4 separate regions of the Homo sapiens genome follow, and regions 1, 3 and 4 are each linked to region 2. Evidence: promoter capture Hi-C in 16 types of primary human blood cells and fetal thymus (Javierre and others, 2016). All regions are on one chromosome and are shown on one strand. The core of a region is centred on a gene start or on the middle of the fragment in contact, and the rest is flanking DNA. Distances in the headings are between cores, read along the strand shown.

Region 1 (3,142 bases), core at 258-2,757, 120 kb after region 2:
CTTTGTAGTAGAATAGTGATTGAGGTAGAATTCCCTCATGAATGAAGAAAATTGAATGCATTATCAAGGTCAGATTTGCGAATGTACCACAGCCAGCCACAGGAGGTGAGTTGGGAAGGTCATGATTAAAAGCAGGCATTTAGATGGAAGAGCCAGTCTGTACAGCTCTGGACAAAGGAAGTGGAGGCACCGGCAGTGATGCAAACACACCCCTGCCCGGAGGCCAAGGGAGACACATGATGTCTTTTAAGGGTCCCAGCCAGCCAGAATTCCCTTTCTGTAAAACAAAACTAATTCACCATATTCAGACAGAGTAGAGAAGGCTGTTAAAGTAGGACAAGGATCCTGTCTTCTCATTTTCACATTCAGGATCTTGGTGGCCGGGAGAGCTAACAGGACAGTCTTCTAGCCTTGACCTTCAACTCCTACCAGAGCTCCGGCTGCTCCCACCTTGCTCTTACCTTTTTTTTTTTTTTTGAGACGGAGTCTCGCTCTGTTGCCCAGGCTGGAGTGCAGGGGCGTGATCTCAGCTTGCCGCAAACTCCGACTCCCGGGATCAAGTGATTCTCCTGCTTCAGCCTCCTGAGTAGCTGGGATTACAGGTGCCCGCCACCATGCATGGCTAATTTTTGTATTTTTAGTAGAGTCAGGGTTTTACCATGTTGGCCAGCTGGTCTCAAACTCCTGACCTCAAGTGATTCGCCTGCCTCGGCCTCCCAAAGTGCTGGGATTAGAGGCATGAGCCACCATACCTGACCACTCTTACCTCTTTCTTGAGCTCTTTCTCTGGTATAATCTCTCAGTGTTTGAACATTTTATTTCCATTTCTAAGCCTGCTGGGCAGCTCAGGAAGGAAGAGTTATTAGCCATGCAAACTTGTTGCCCTGAACTCCCAGGGGCACATACTTTGGGCAAAATGGGAAGGGTGATTTTGAAGAGTTGGAACTCAAATAATCTAGGGGGAAATCCAAGCAAGGTTGCTCTTGTGGGGCCATGGAGAATATACTTCTGGCCTTTACTACTCTGAACAGGCATTACTCTGAGTTGTCCAATGAGCAGATCCATGGATAGAGGCAGAAGAGCTGGGTTTTGGTCCTCAAGCCATTGCTGCCTTCCCAGGTGACCTCCTGCAGCTCAGTTTCCCTCTGTGTGGAATGAACTTAGCCTCCCAGGCCTGCTAATGAGCTGCAATGATTGCCAGATCAAAGGGTGTTTGGGAACATTTCCAGCCTTACCAGTGAGGTGGAGAAAAAGCAGGCAAAGCAAGGTGATTTAGAAAATGCCACTTTACCTGTTGAACCAAAGAGCCAGAAGTGGAACTCACAGAAATACAACTGAGATTACCCCGAGGTGCACAGTAAATAGTACAATTCATTTCTCACCTAGGCCACCAACTCTTGTCCCTAGGAGAATCCAGATTGCATCCAAATTTTGTTCTGATTTCCTTCCATCTGTGATAACTTCGTTGTTCTGAAATACAACGATGGTTTTTCATATCATTGGTCGTGGTTGTAGCCCGTGCGAGAATAATGATGTATGCTTTCCCTGGAAATCAGCTAGATCCAGAGTTCCCAAATGGTGGTCTATGGACCAATGCTGACACATGACAAGGTTTTTATTAATTAAATGAGAACAATAAGGACACTGTAAAGAATCTCTCGAGTTTAATTTATTTCATTTAAAGGGCTTTTCTTCTGAGATGATAGTGTTGGAATGTAAGCTCCAAGAGGGTAAGGACTTTGATGATATTCTTGTTCTCTGTTTTCCAATACCCAGAAGAATACCTGTATGTAAGAGGCACTCAATCAATATTTGTTGAATGAATGAAGGAAAAATTATTTCCTTTCTATTTTCCTGGATTAAAATATCCTTTTTTTAATGAAATGGTATTGAAAGTAAATGGTAGGAGGTTTTGAAAACTTTTTTTCTATGGAAAAATAAAAGTATATAATTATTTTTAAAAGGTTATTGATCTTTAATGTCTAAGTTTGAGAATTTCTAGACCAGATGATCCATTAAGGACCATTTCATCTTATGATCCATCAGACATAGGGTGGGAACACGTTCAAAGCCCTTTAGTTAAATCATAGCAGGCCACACGCAGTCCCAGCACTTTGGGAAGCTGAGGCAGACAGATCACTTGAGGTCAGGAGTTCGAGACCAGCCTGGCCAACATGATGAAACCCTGTTTCTACTGAAAATACAAAAACTAGCCAGGCGTGGTGGTGCGCACCTGTAGTTCCAGCTACTGGGGAGGCTGAGGCAGGAGAATCACTTGAACCCAGGAGGCAGAGGTGGCAGTGAGCTGACATCTAGCCACTGTACTCAGCCCAGGTGACACAGCAAGACTGTCTCAAAAGAAAAGAAAAGAAAAAAAAATCATGGCAGAAATGTTTCCCCTCTGAAGTCTTAGAAGCAGAGAGCTGAGTTAAGATACTGGAAAACACATATTAGCCATGTAACCTCTGGCAAGTCATGAAAGCCTAGTTTTCTTCTGTAAGATGGGAATAATGCTGCCTCAAAGGATTATGGTGGCTTCAAACGAGAGAGCAATGTGTGAAAGCACGTGGGGCCTGGTTGTTTATTTTTAAAGTCTGAAATTAATAAAATTTAAGGTTTCCACAAAAAAACCCTGAAACCTACACTACTATTTGAAATTACTCGAGACAACTTGATTATGTAGAAATATTGTATTCTTTTTTCTTTCTCAACTTTTCTTTTAATCTTTGGATTCTTTTTGATAGCTGTTAGTAACCTCCAAGAGTGGAGATAGAAAAGGAATGAACTTCTCCACAACTTCTTGTCCAGTTGTCTATTTACAGAGAAAGAGGCGCAGCCTAAAGTCAGCCACACACACAAACATTAGCAATTAGTTCTGTGAGCTCAGTGAAGTTGAAGCTGTGTCCTTTCCCATGGTTTCTAAACCTTGGCACTCTTGACATTTTGGAATGGGCCATTTTTGTTGTTGTTGTGGGGGCTGTCTTGTGCATTGTGGGATGTTTAGCAGTATCTCTGGCTTCTACCCACTACATACTCACACACATACATGCTTATAATTGTGACAACCAAAAATGTTTCCAGACCACTGCAAATGCCCCCCAGGAAGGGTTGGTGGGGAAAGCAAAATTGTCCCCAGTTGAGA
Region 2 (3,365 bases), core at 518-3,017:
GTGTTTCCTATCATTAATGAGGCAACTGGTATTGAAGCATTCTTTTTTTATTTTATTTTATTTTTTTGAGATGGAGTCTCGCTCTGTCACCCAGGCTGGATTGCAGTGGCACATCTCAGCTCACTGCAACCTCTGCCTCCCCGGTTCAAGCAGTTCTCCTGCCTCAGCCTCCCATGTAGCTGGGACTACAGGCGTGCACCACCACGCCCAGCTGATTTTTGTATTTTTAGTAGAGACGGGGTTTTGCCATGTTGGCCAGGCTGGTCTTGAACTCCTGACCTCAGGTGATCCACTCGCCTAGGCCTCCGAAAGTGCTGGGATTACAGGCATGAGCCACTGTGCCTGGCCGAAGAATTCTCTTTTTTTTTTTTTTTTTTTTTTGACAAGGTCTCACTCTCACCCAGGCTGGAGTGCAGTGGCACAATATTGGCTGACTTCAGCCTCAACCTCCTGGGCTCAGGTGATCCTCCCACCTCAGCCTTCCAAGTAGCTCGGACTATAGGCACGCGCCACTACGCTCAACTAATTGTTAAAAATTTTCGTAGAGACAAGGTTTTGCCATTTTCCCCAGGCTGGTCTTGAACTCTTGGGCTCAAGCAATCCTCCAGCTCGGTTTCCCAAAATGCTGGGATTACAGGGTGAGCCACTGCACCTGGCCTCAAACCAATCTTTGAAGGTAGTTATTCAAATCTACTTGTTGTTTTAATGTGAAGATAATTCCTAATGCTTCCTTTCTTTATTCTTTTTTGAAACCTTTTTTGATAGTGAAATATTCTACCCATACATAAATGTACAGCTTAATGAATTTTTACAAGATGAACATCTATATAACCATCATTAAGGTCAGGAAATACAGTCTCAAAAACATTCTTCTCCCTACCTGCCAGAACCGACCACAATCCTAACTTGATGGGAATCACTAAGTGGGTAGTGTTTCCCATAAAATTGCTTTTTTGCTTTTTTTCATAGTTTCCTCCACTAAGTATGGAGCCACAATCACTGTAGAGTGTAATTTAGCCTGTTTTTTATATACAAAAATCATACAGTATGTACTTTTTCTGGGTTTTTGTTGTTGTTCAAAATTGTGTTTTTAGTATGCCTCCATATTGTTACACATAGTTGTATTTCATTCATTTACAGTGCTATGTAGTATGCCAGTATAGGCAATAGCATAATCTAATTAACCATTCTTTTGATGGATAGTTCAGTTATTTCCAGTTTGCATGCACAGGAGCACGCACTTCTTAGGGTAAATACCTAAAAGTGAAATTGCTGGATCCCAAGGCATACATATCCTGGCTAATGTCAAACCATTTTCCAAAATGGTTGGTTGCATCGGTTCTCACGTCCGCCCGCAGAAGGTGACGGTTCTTTGCACTACGTCCTCCCTAGCACCTGACGCTGCCAGACGTTTCAACTTTGGACTTTTCGACTCAACTTATGGTGAGTGTGGTATTATCCGCTGTGGTTTTAATTGGCCTTCTTCTGATTATTAATGAATTAAAGCATCATTTCAATAAACAGATATTTATTGGCCATTTAGATTTCTCGTGTGTTTGTGAAATACCTTTCCATTTACCCATTATTTAATTGGGTTCCTTTTCTTCTTGATTTGTAGCAGTTCCTCGCGTATTTTAGTAGTTTTATTTGTGGCAAAGATCTCCTCCCCCGGGTGGCCTCTGCCCTCCGGCGCTGGGAAGTCCGGGCGGCGAGGCAGCCTCTCCCGGGGCGTTCGGGCTCCTCCGGCTCTGCCCCGATGTCGTTATTACGGCCGTTTGCAGCCTCCGTGCCAGGGCCGGGGGTGCGGTTCGGGACGCGGGATCCTAGGTCGGGTCCTGCCCCGCCCATGTGGCGCCGGCGTCTGTGTTGTCTGCGGTCTCCAGGGCAGCGCCGGGGCGGGCGGGGGCCCGGGCGGCGGCGGCGGCGGCGCGGGAGGATGCGGGGCCCGTCCGGGTCGCGGCCGCGGAGGAGCGCCGGGCAGGTGACGGGCGGTGGCCTCCCGGATCTGGGGTGGGCGGCGCGCCCGGGGAGGGAAACGGGAAGGGCTTACTGGGGATGGGGACGGCAGGAAACCACCCAAGCAAGCTGGGGAGGAGCCGGCGCGGGAGCCTTCGGGACGGAGTGGGGAGCGACAAGGGGGCGAGGCCGCGACAAGGGGCTGGGGGGCCGCCATGCGAGGCTTCGGCGCCCGGGCACCCAGAGCAGCCCTGTTCCCGGTCAATTAGGACCGGTCCCGGGCACCAGGCCCGCCGACTTGTCACTTCCTGGACCTCCAAACGCCCCTTGTGACAGGCCTTGTTCCTCAGGAACAAGCAAAGGTAGAAAACCGAACGCCTCCCCTGGGCAGCTTCCGGCCTGTTTCAAACCAGGGTTCGTTCCTTTTTCTTTACGATTCATCTTGGTGAGCCCAAGCAGGGTTCCTTTTCCCCTCCAGGAGAAAGTTCGATTGTCCCATGCTAGTGGACTAGACCCACTGCAGGGATCCCTGGGGAGCTGGCCGCTTCTTAGTCCCTAGGTGCCATCGGATCTATCGCTGTCTTGTTTATTCAGGAGACTAGTCACCTCTCTTGGTCAGAAATTTCAGCGGCACAACCTTTTTTTTTTTTCACTGGACGGGAGGAGGGAGCCACATTCATGAAATTTAAACGCCCACTTTCTAACTTATTCAAGCTGTCAGCTGTTCCTTCTTCCACCCCATGTTTTGGTAAGATCAGGCCTCCACAGAAAACCCAGCTTTTGTGGCGTTTGGCTTTGCTCTTTGCATACTTTAGCAAACTTCAGGAATCTGCTAACATCAGCAAAATTATCTTCTGTGGTTACTGTTTTATTTTTTATTCATTCCAAGAAAGCTTAGCCTATTTCATTTAAGAAGAGAAGTTCAAGGGACTGAATTATTTTAAGAGTAATTCTAAGTTGCACTATAACGCTTAAGCTTGCTCTTCAGGATCTCAAATTCAGTGACCTTAGCTCCTCCAGTAAAACCGGTGTTAAACAATCTCTTTTACTTAAAATGTGTTAGTATTTGATAGATTTGCTGCTTTCTTGGCACATCCTAAAAAAGCAACAATTAAAATAATAAGGCAGAATGCAATATGTATTTTAAAAATAAGAGACAAAATAATACAACAAACCAGTCTGTAATATTAGAGAATAATATGTTAGTCTACCAACAGGGCAGACTTCGAGTTCAATAGAAAACTCACTTCGTGTGTATTTACATATGAACGTTCCCTTTTGCCTGTTGTTTGTTAAGGTGCTTTCCTCCAAGGATTTGATGATGCTCCTTGCAAACATTAGCAACAAGGTCAACATTATAAGCAATCCTAGGAATAGTAATAAGGTTGTGTCATTTAATTAAAGTTAGG
Region 3 (3,277 bases), core at 511-3,010, 68 kb before region 2:
TTTAACCAAAGAATTATTTTAAAGTAACCTTATATTTAAAAGATGATTTTGCAAAAAATAAAAAATAAAAAATATGCCTTCTGGAGTGATGTCTGTTTGGTAAATCATTGTTGATAATTTCCTTGTTAGTGGTATTTGGAATGCATATAGATTGTCTTGTCATTGTGCTTAACATTACCATAAGTGTGTCTTTTCCACTCAACTAGCTGTATTCGTATTAAAATGAAGTCTCTTATTTCAATTACCTAGTGTTGTTGGGAACTAATTGAACAGCTACAGTAAAAGAAGTTCCTATCTCATTGCCTTTGTGGAAAGGCTTCCCTATGTGGTAAAAGAAAGGCATTCCTCCGTAACCTAGGCACTCTGCAAGTCCAGTGTTTAATTTCAAAGCAGTGATGAATTGCTCTTTTGAAATTACTCTAAGTAATCCATGTGTTAGAATACAGATGAACCTCCGTTTGATTTCACAGCCTTCAGCACAGGCAACTGTTACTGAGTCTGCACGAACTTAGATAATGAGGTGCAGGGTTATTTGCATTTAAATTGCAATCCAGCACACGTGTGAGAAAGAAGAGGCACTAGTCTAAAAGGCTGCATTGCGGGGAGAGATGAGACAGGCAGAGGAGGGTGGGGTAAAGAGCGATTTAACATCTATTTAGGTTAATGTTCACTTTACAAAGGTGATGGGGGATATTTTGTTAGGTGATAGCAGAAGCTTTTCATTTTTAAACATAGAATTAAAATTGGATTTGCTTCTCTTTAATACTTCAACATATTGAATTTCCCTAGGAAAGTGACTAGCTATAATGAAAATTCAAGCGAAAAGGGAAAAAGATTGTAAATGCAGATGAAATAACTTCATTTTTAAGTACAAATAATAGTAGGATTGGTGTATGTAGGTTTAAAATTATAGTGATGACTAGTCGAACTTAATATACAATCAGTTCTTGCAAATACTTTACACTTAGCTGCCATTACACAACAAATTGGAATTTTCCAGCTGTTCAACTATCATGGACTCTGTACAGGATAGATGTGTATAATGGAAAATATGTACTGCTTCTTTCTTTGATTGCCACTCAAGATGGAAACACCATGCCAAGGCATTTTGGTTATACACAGATCATTCTAAACCTGTTATTTTGGAGAGGTGTATTGGTTTCTTTCTCATTTATAAGGCTATTGTATTTTTTTTTGTATGTGATTCAGGTGTATTTATTTGAAGACTATTTGTAGTTATAGGAAAACCACACCTACCTGTATTGCCAAATTCTTTGTAAACTCTCCGTGGCACTTGTGCTTTCCTGGCTGAGAGCTCTCCCCTGTTGATACAGCTATGGCACCATTGTAATTACAGATGCACCTTTCAGGAGCATCTCCATTAAATGGTTCATAGATGATTTAATAAAAAGAAACTTCTCAGTTGATCCAGAGCAATGTCATTTTAAATTCTGAGTGGTCTCTTCCTATCATGTTTTCAGATGTTACTTTGTTCATTATTATTTCATAAATGTGCATTCAGAGTGTGATTCTGTTTTCAAAAGGCCAGAGGGCGCTTTCTGCTGATGGAAGGGGAGGATGCTCCAGCAGCACTGTGTGTCTCTGGACCCTTCTGACCAGGCATCAAGCCTCCATGCCATTCAGACTGGGGAGCTGAACACCCACTCTGTGTGAAAATAGCAAGCTTCAAAATGCTTCCCCTGCCCTATGTGCAAACTAGGAGACAAAAAATATATTTCCTTCTACCTATCCTAGGTTCATGGCTGAGGCCCCTATAACAAAACATAGATTAACAAAAGAAAAAGCATACAAGTTTTTCATGTCTTGGGGCCAAGGGAAAGCTTTCCCTCTGCCCTCTAAAGGTTCACTGAAAATGACTGACAAGAGGCAGATTAATAGAAAAAGCATAAATAAATTTATTAACTACGTGAGCTTGTAGAGTATCACAGAGTGAGTGCCCAGTCTCCCAACGGGGTACAGATGCTTATATGCCCTACATCTTAGGGGAAAGAGAATGGGGAGGTGTGGGTGATTTTAGGCAGATAGTAAATGATTTTTAAGGAAATTCAATGGACTTGAAGAACATACAATGGTCTGGGACAAAGTCGGTCAGGCCTACAGAGTGGACAGTCATTTGGGACAAAAGTCTGTCCAGGTTTGTTGTCAGACTTTAGTCTTCCATCCTGTGATGTGAGTTCAGTCAATGGAAACTCCGAGAAGGGACCAGAAGTAATTGTTTCCTTCTTTGGTAGATATGAGAATAACCTCATCCTGTGCTTTGGGACAGGTAGAGGACTGAGAGGGGATAGAGGAAGGAAAAGCAATTGTTCTCCTTGGTGGGCCTGTCCAGTCTTTATGTAGATAGGGGAAAGGCTTCTTTTAGCATCTGTTGATCTCTAAGGGCCTTTAATTCAAAATACTCAGCTGGGTGTGGTGGCTCACACCTGTAATCCCAGTATTCTTGGAGATCAGAGCCGGAGAATTGCTTGAGCCTAGGAGTTTGAGACCAGCCTAGGCAACATAGCAAGACCCTGTCACTACAAAAAAATACAAAAATTAGCCAGGTGTGGTGGTGTGCACTTGTGGTCCCAGCTGGTCAGGAGGCTGAGGTGGGAGGATCGCTTGAGCCCAGAATGTCTAGCTGACAGTGAGCCATGACAGTACTCCAGCCTGGGCAACAAAGCGAGACTCAAACAAACAAAAACCCAAAATACTCATTATACCAGGGAGCCATATTTGGGGGTGAAGCTCCCTGTTTTCCTTCACATGACACAAAAGCCTTCATAAGGAAATGAAGATTTGAAGAAAACTAGTTAAACCTGAATATTTCAATGCAAAATTTGATGAAGAATAGATAGTCATGGAGAAACGTGATAGAACTAAGAGTATGATCTAATGGTAATAAACTGGGAGGACTTAATGAGGCCTGTGTGTTCAGATTCCCCTGGGTGTCCCTCTGTCTTCAGAGATGAGGGTGCTCATTTTCTCCCGCTCTAGGGAAGGCACCTTTCACATGAAGTTCTCAGGACCTGCGTCAGGAAAGGTTAGAGTCCTTCCTAGGTTTTATCACCTGATTCAGGGGAGAAGGGTGGGGCGGGGGAGAACAGTCAAAGTGACCTTTCTGCTCCTGTTTTTTTCTCAGATTCCTTCATCTTAAACTATTCAATAGGCTGAGATGCAATATTTTCGGGTATAGTGCCCTGAACTCCATGTCACCTTCATGGTTTACTACTACCCACCATCTACCTCAAGGAGTTGCACCAAGAATGATCCAGAG
Region 4 (3,476 bases), core at 748-3,247, 93 kb before region 2:
GCCAACTGGCATGGCCTGTTTTTGGCCTGGGGGCTGTTTCGGAGCCCAAAGTAAGAACGTTTTCTCCATCTGATGAAAGCTGGCTACATGCTGACATAGACACTGATGTCTAGACATTTTTCTTTCAGGATCTTTGTTAAAACTATAGGTTTAAAGAAAACTCCTTTAAGGCAAGAACCATGTCTGGTTTAAAGAGCTAAGTTGGCCGGGCATGGTGACTCACACCTGTAATCTCAGCACTTTGGGAGGCCAAGAGAGGGGAATCACCTGAGGTCAGGAGTTCGAGACCAGCCTGGCCAACATGGTGAAACCCTGTCTCTACTAAAAATACAAAAATTAGCCAGGTGTGGTGGCGGCCGCCTGAAATCCTAGCTACCAGGGAGGCTGAGGCAAGAGAATCACTTGAACCCAGGAGGCAGAGGCTACAGTGTGCTGAGATCATGCCATTGCACTCCAGCCTGGGCAACAAGAGTGAAACTCTATCTCAAAATAATAATAATAATAATTCATAAATAAAGAGCTATGTTACACAGAAAGGGGGTACTTCATTCCCTGAGCCTTCCTGGAGGAGAGACACTCCACCTGGCCCCTCTGTAACCCCCGTATGGAAGACTGGCTTTCCATGAGCTGGGTTTCAGGTGTCTATCATGGTGACTATCAGATGAAGCAAGGGAAGCTAGGTCCATGTCCATTTATACAGCAGTTGGCCAGAGAGCCTACAGGATTTCAGGTCAATTTCCAAAAACGATACTTGAATCCTGATGGGAAATCTAGACATGCCTGAAGAAAAGTATGAAACCATTTCTAGCACCAGGCATACACCGTCAATACCCTGAAGAGAGAAGTGCTCTCTGATAGGAATTCACATCTACTCAGGGCCTGCAGACCCCAAGGGCTCCTGGGCACATCGCCCTCTGGAGGTGTGCAGTATTAATGCAGAACATACAGTCCTGCCCTCAAGGCGCTCAGGAGAATGGTGAGGCATGGGGCTCACTCACCCTCTCTTCCTTTTCCAGACATTACAGGTCATCTACCCCTATACCCCACAAAATGACGATGAGCTGGAGCTGGTCCCCGGGGACTTCATCTTCATGTCTCCAATGGAGCAGACCAGCACCAGCGAGGGTTGGATCTATGGCACGTCCTTAACCACCGGCTGCTCTGGACTCCTGCCTGAGAATTACATTACCAAGGCTGATGAATGCAGCACCTGGATATTTCATGGGTAAGCAGACACAAAGACCTTTATGCCATTTGAAGAATGTTGCTAAGGCAGACTGGATCCTGGATACACAGGGCAGCAGTAAATGGAGTCCATGGGAAGAAGGCCCTGTGGATTCCAGAATTCCAGGAAAGGAGCTGATTTGAGGCATGGGGAAAATGCGAAATGGATTGCTCTGCTTCCCTCTGCCTGCCCCATTTGCCATGGTTGTCTGCTTCAGTTCCTGATCAGAGACTAAACTGAGGTGGCTTGGGGTCCATCTCTTCTGGCCGAAGAGTGGCATCATCCCAGTGCTGCGTCTTCACTGCTTTAGGGCTTCTGTCCACCTTATCCTGGGTCATGAGTCAGGGTGGTCTGATTTCCCGAAGCAGCTGGGCGGATTACTACCCTGCCATCCAGACCAATAGAGAAGGGGGTTTCAAGAGGCAGGAGCCCTAACTGTATCCTTGATTTGCTAAGTGACCCTGAGCAAGTCCCCAGACACAGCCTATGCATGCCTAGACAACAAAGACCATGTCTAAGGGAACAGGCAACTGCCAGACTGAAAAGGGGTCCATTTCCCCCCTCCCCTCTGCCAGTCTTCTTTAGGGTAATAACTTTCCACCCGTCCCTCATTACTATTTTGCCCCCATTCCATACTGGTACCACATTCAGTGGCCAACTTTGTCCCAATAGATAAAATAGAAACAAAAGCCATCTTCTCTTTCTTAGTTGGAGCAGCTCAAAGCCAGCGCTTCCCTGGCACACTGGGGCATCTAGCCAGGGTCTGCATGCTGGTTTGTTTTTCTCCCACTTGTTTTTGTCATGTGGCAACATGGCTGAGAGGCAGAAGCCCTGAGCGCCAGCTGCTTGGTGGCTAATATTGTTATTATTGCCATAAAGGAGAAGCAGAGAGAGATGATTTCATCAAGTCTTTTGCCTGGAAGGAGAAAATAAAGGTCCCCTACCCTAGTGAGCCACAAACAGACAAACCACAAATCCAAAGATGGGAAAGAATATTTTCTTCCTCAATAACCCCACCCAGCAATCCCTCCCCCTCTCCCTCACTCTGCTCCCACCTCAGCCCAGCCCATGAGCCTCCAGAATTGGATGGCACAAAATTAGAGGTCAAAGCTGTCTTATGTTCCCCAAACATTTTGCTTTTTCAGAAATGCTTTGGAAGATCAAAATATATAAGCTGGGTTTCCAAAGTCTCCATTTTAATCCCTACAACAACAAGTAAAGCAAAATATGCGTGAATAAACTGAGAACTAAAACATTATTTGCCTGACAAAGCACAGTTCTCAGATCTGTTATTTTTTATTTTACAGTACTTGGAGTTGCTGTTTTATCAGATCTCTTTCTTAAAAGTGGGTGTATGGCCAGGTGCGGTGGCTCACACCTGTAATCCCAGCACTTTGGGAGGCCAGGGTGGGTGGATCACTTGAGGTCAGGAGTTCAAGACCTGCCAAACCAACATGGTGAAACCGCGTCTCTACCAAAAATAAAAAAAAAAATCAGCTGGGCGTGGTGGCATACACCTGTAGTCCCAGCTACTCAGGAGGCTGAGGCAGGAGAATCACTTGAACCTAGGAGGTGGAGGTTGCAGTGAGCTGAGATCACGCAACTGCACTCCAGCCTGGGCAACAGAGCAAGACTTTGTCTGAAAAAAAAAAAAAAGTGGAGGTATATGAGAAGCAGTGCTGATCTCTTAGAGTTCACTCCATCCAAACCCACTCTTCCCTAAATTACAACTCAGGCCGATGTATAGGTGAACCTGAGTGACTTCGGTCAGTGCGTCCCAGGGAGGTCTTTGTGTCATCTTTTATTCGAGAGATTACTAATGATGTCATGTCTCTGAGAACAATGTCTGAAATTAAACTAACAGCTTCCACAGCCAACCCTGCTCAAAGTAGGTAAATAAGTTAGGCATTAGTTTATTGTGATTAAGAATTTGAGACTGGATTCCAATAGTCTTGGATTTAAACGATAACTCTCCCACTTACCAGCTGTGTGGCCTTGGCAAAGTTGCATTACCTCTCTGAGCCTCTGTTTGCTCATCTAGAAAATGGAACTAATAATTGCACTTACCTCATAAGGTTGTTGGGAAGACTGCAATACAGAGCTTAGCTTTACATGGTTCAGAGTCTGGTGTATAGCGGTGACTATAAAATCGCCATTTGCATAATGATGATTATTCTCTTTTTTCTATCTTGTGTTTGCCAGTCCTCACTTAGTGCTCATCAAAGGAAATGTGTCTTCCATAAAAGCAATC

The links. Contacts are between HindIII fragments. The CHiCAGO score rates a contact against its expected background, and 5 or more counts as called.
Region 1: a fragment that was not itself captured here is called in contact with the fragment with the promoter of JHY in region 2 in 1 of 17 cell types (M2 macrophages); the score reaches 5.4 in M2 macrophages.
Region 3: a contact is called between a fragment that was not itself captured here and the fragment with the promoter of JHY in region 2, in 1 of 17 cell types (total CD8 T cells). The highest score is 5.8, in total CD8 T cells.
Region 4: a contact is called between a fragment that was not itself captured here and the fragment with the promoter of JHY in region 2, in 2 of 17 cell types (total CD8 T cells and naive CD8 T cells). The highest score is 7.5, in total CD8 T cells.

The regions. Positions count from the first base shown.
Region 1 is chr11:123,002,135-123,005,276 of GRCh38, forward strand. No RefSeq gene overlaps it. Among named protein-coding and RNA genes, the nearest start is that of BSX, 22 kb to the left of the region's middle. The HindIII fragment of the contact is 3,454 bases long and covers 1-3,142 here.
Region 2 is chr11:122,880,992-122,884,356 of GRCh38, forward strand. JHY (junctional cadherin complex regulator) reads left to right here and starts at 1,768. Exons shown (of 9, transcript NM_024806.4): 1 at 1,768-1,981. RefSeq lists a silencer at 1,887-2,246. The HindIII fragment of the contact is 12,251 bases long and covers 1-2,847 here.
Region 3 is chr11:122,813,047-122,816,323 of GRCh38, forward strand. It overlaps UBASH3B (ubiquitin associated and SH3 domain containing B), which reads left to right. Exons shown (of 14, transcript NM_032873.5): 14 at 1-1,427. Among named protein-coding and RNA genes, the nearest start is that of CRTAM, 24 kb to the right of the region's middle. RefSeq lists enhancers at 1-154, 155-762. The HindIII fragment of the contact is 157 bases long and covers 1,683-1,839 here.
Region 4 is chr11:122,788,084-122,791,559 of GRCh38, forward strand. UBASH3B (ubiquitin associated and SH3 domain containing B) reads left to right here. Exons shown (of 14, transcript NM_032873.5): 6 at 1,017-1,225. Among named protein-coding and RNA genes, the nearest start is that of CRTAM, 49 kb to the right of the region's middle. The HindIII fragment of the contact is 4,369 bases long and covers 1-3,476 here.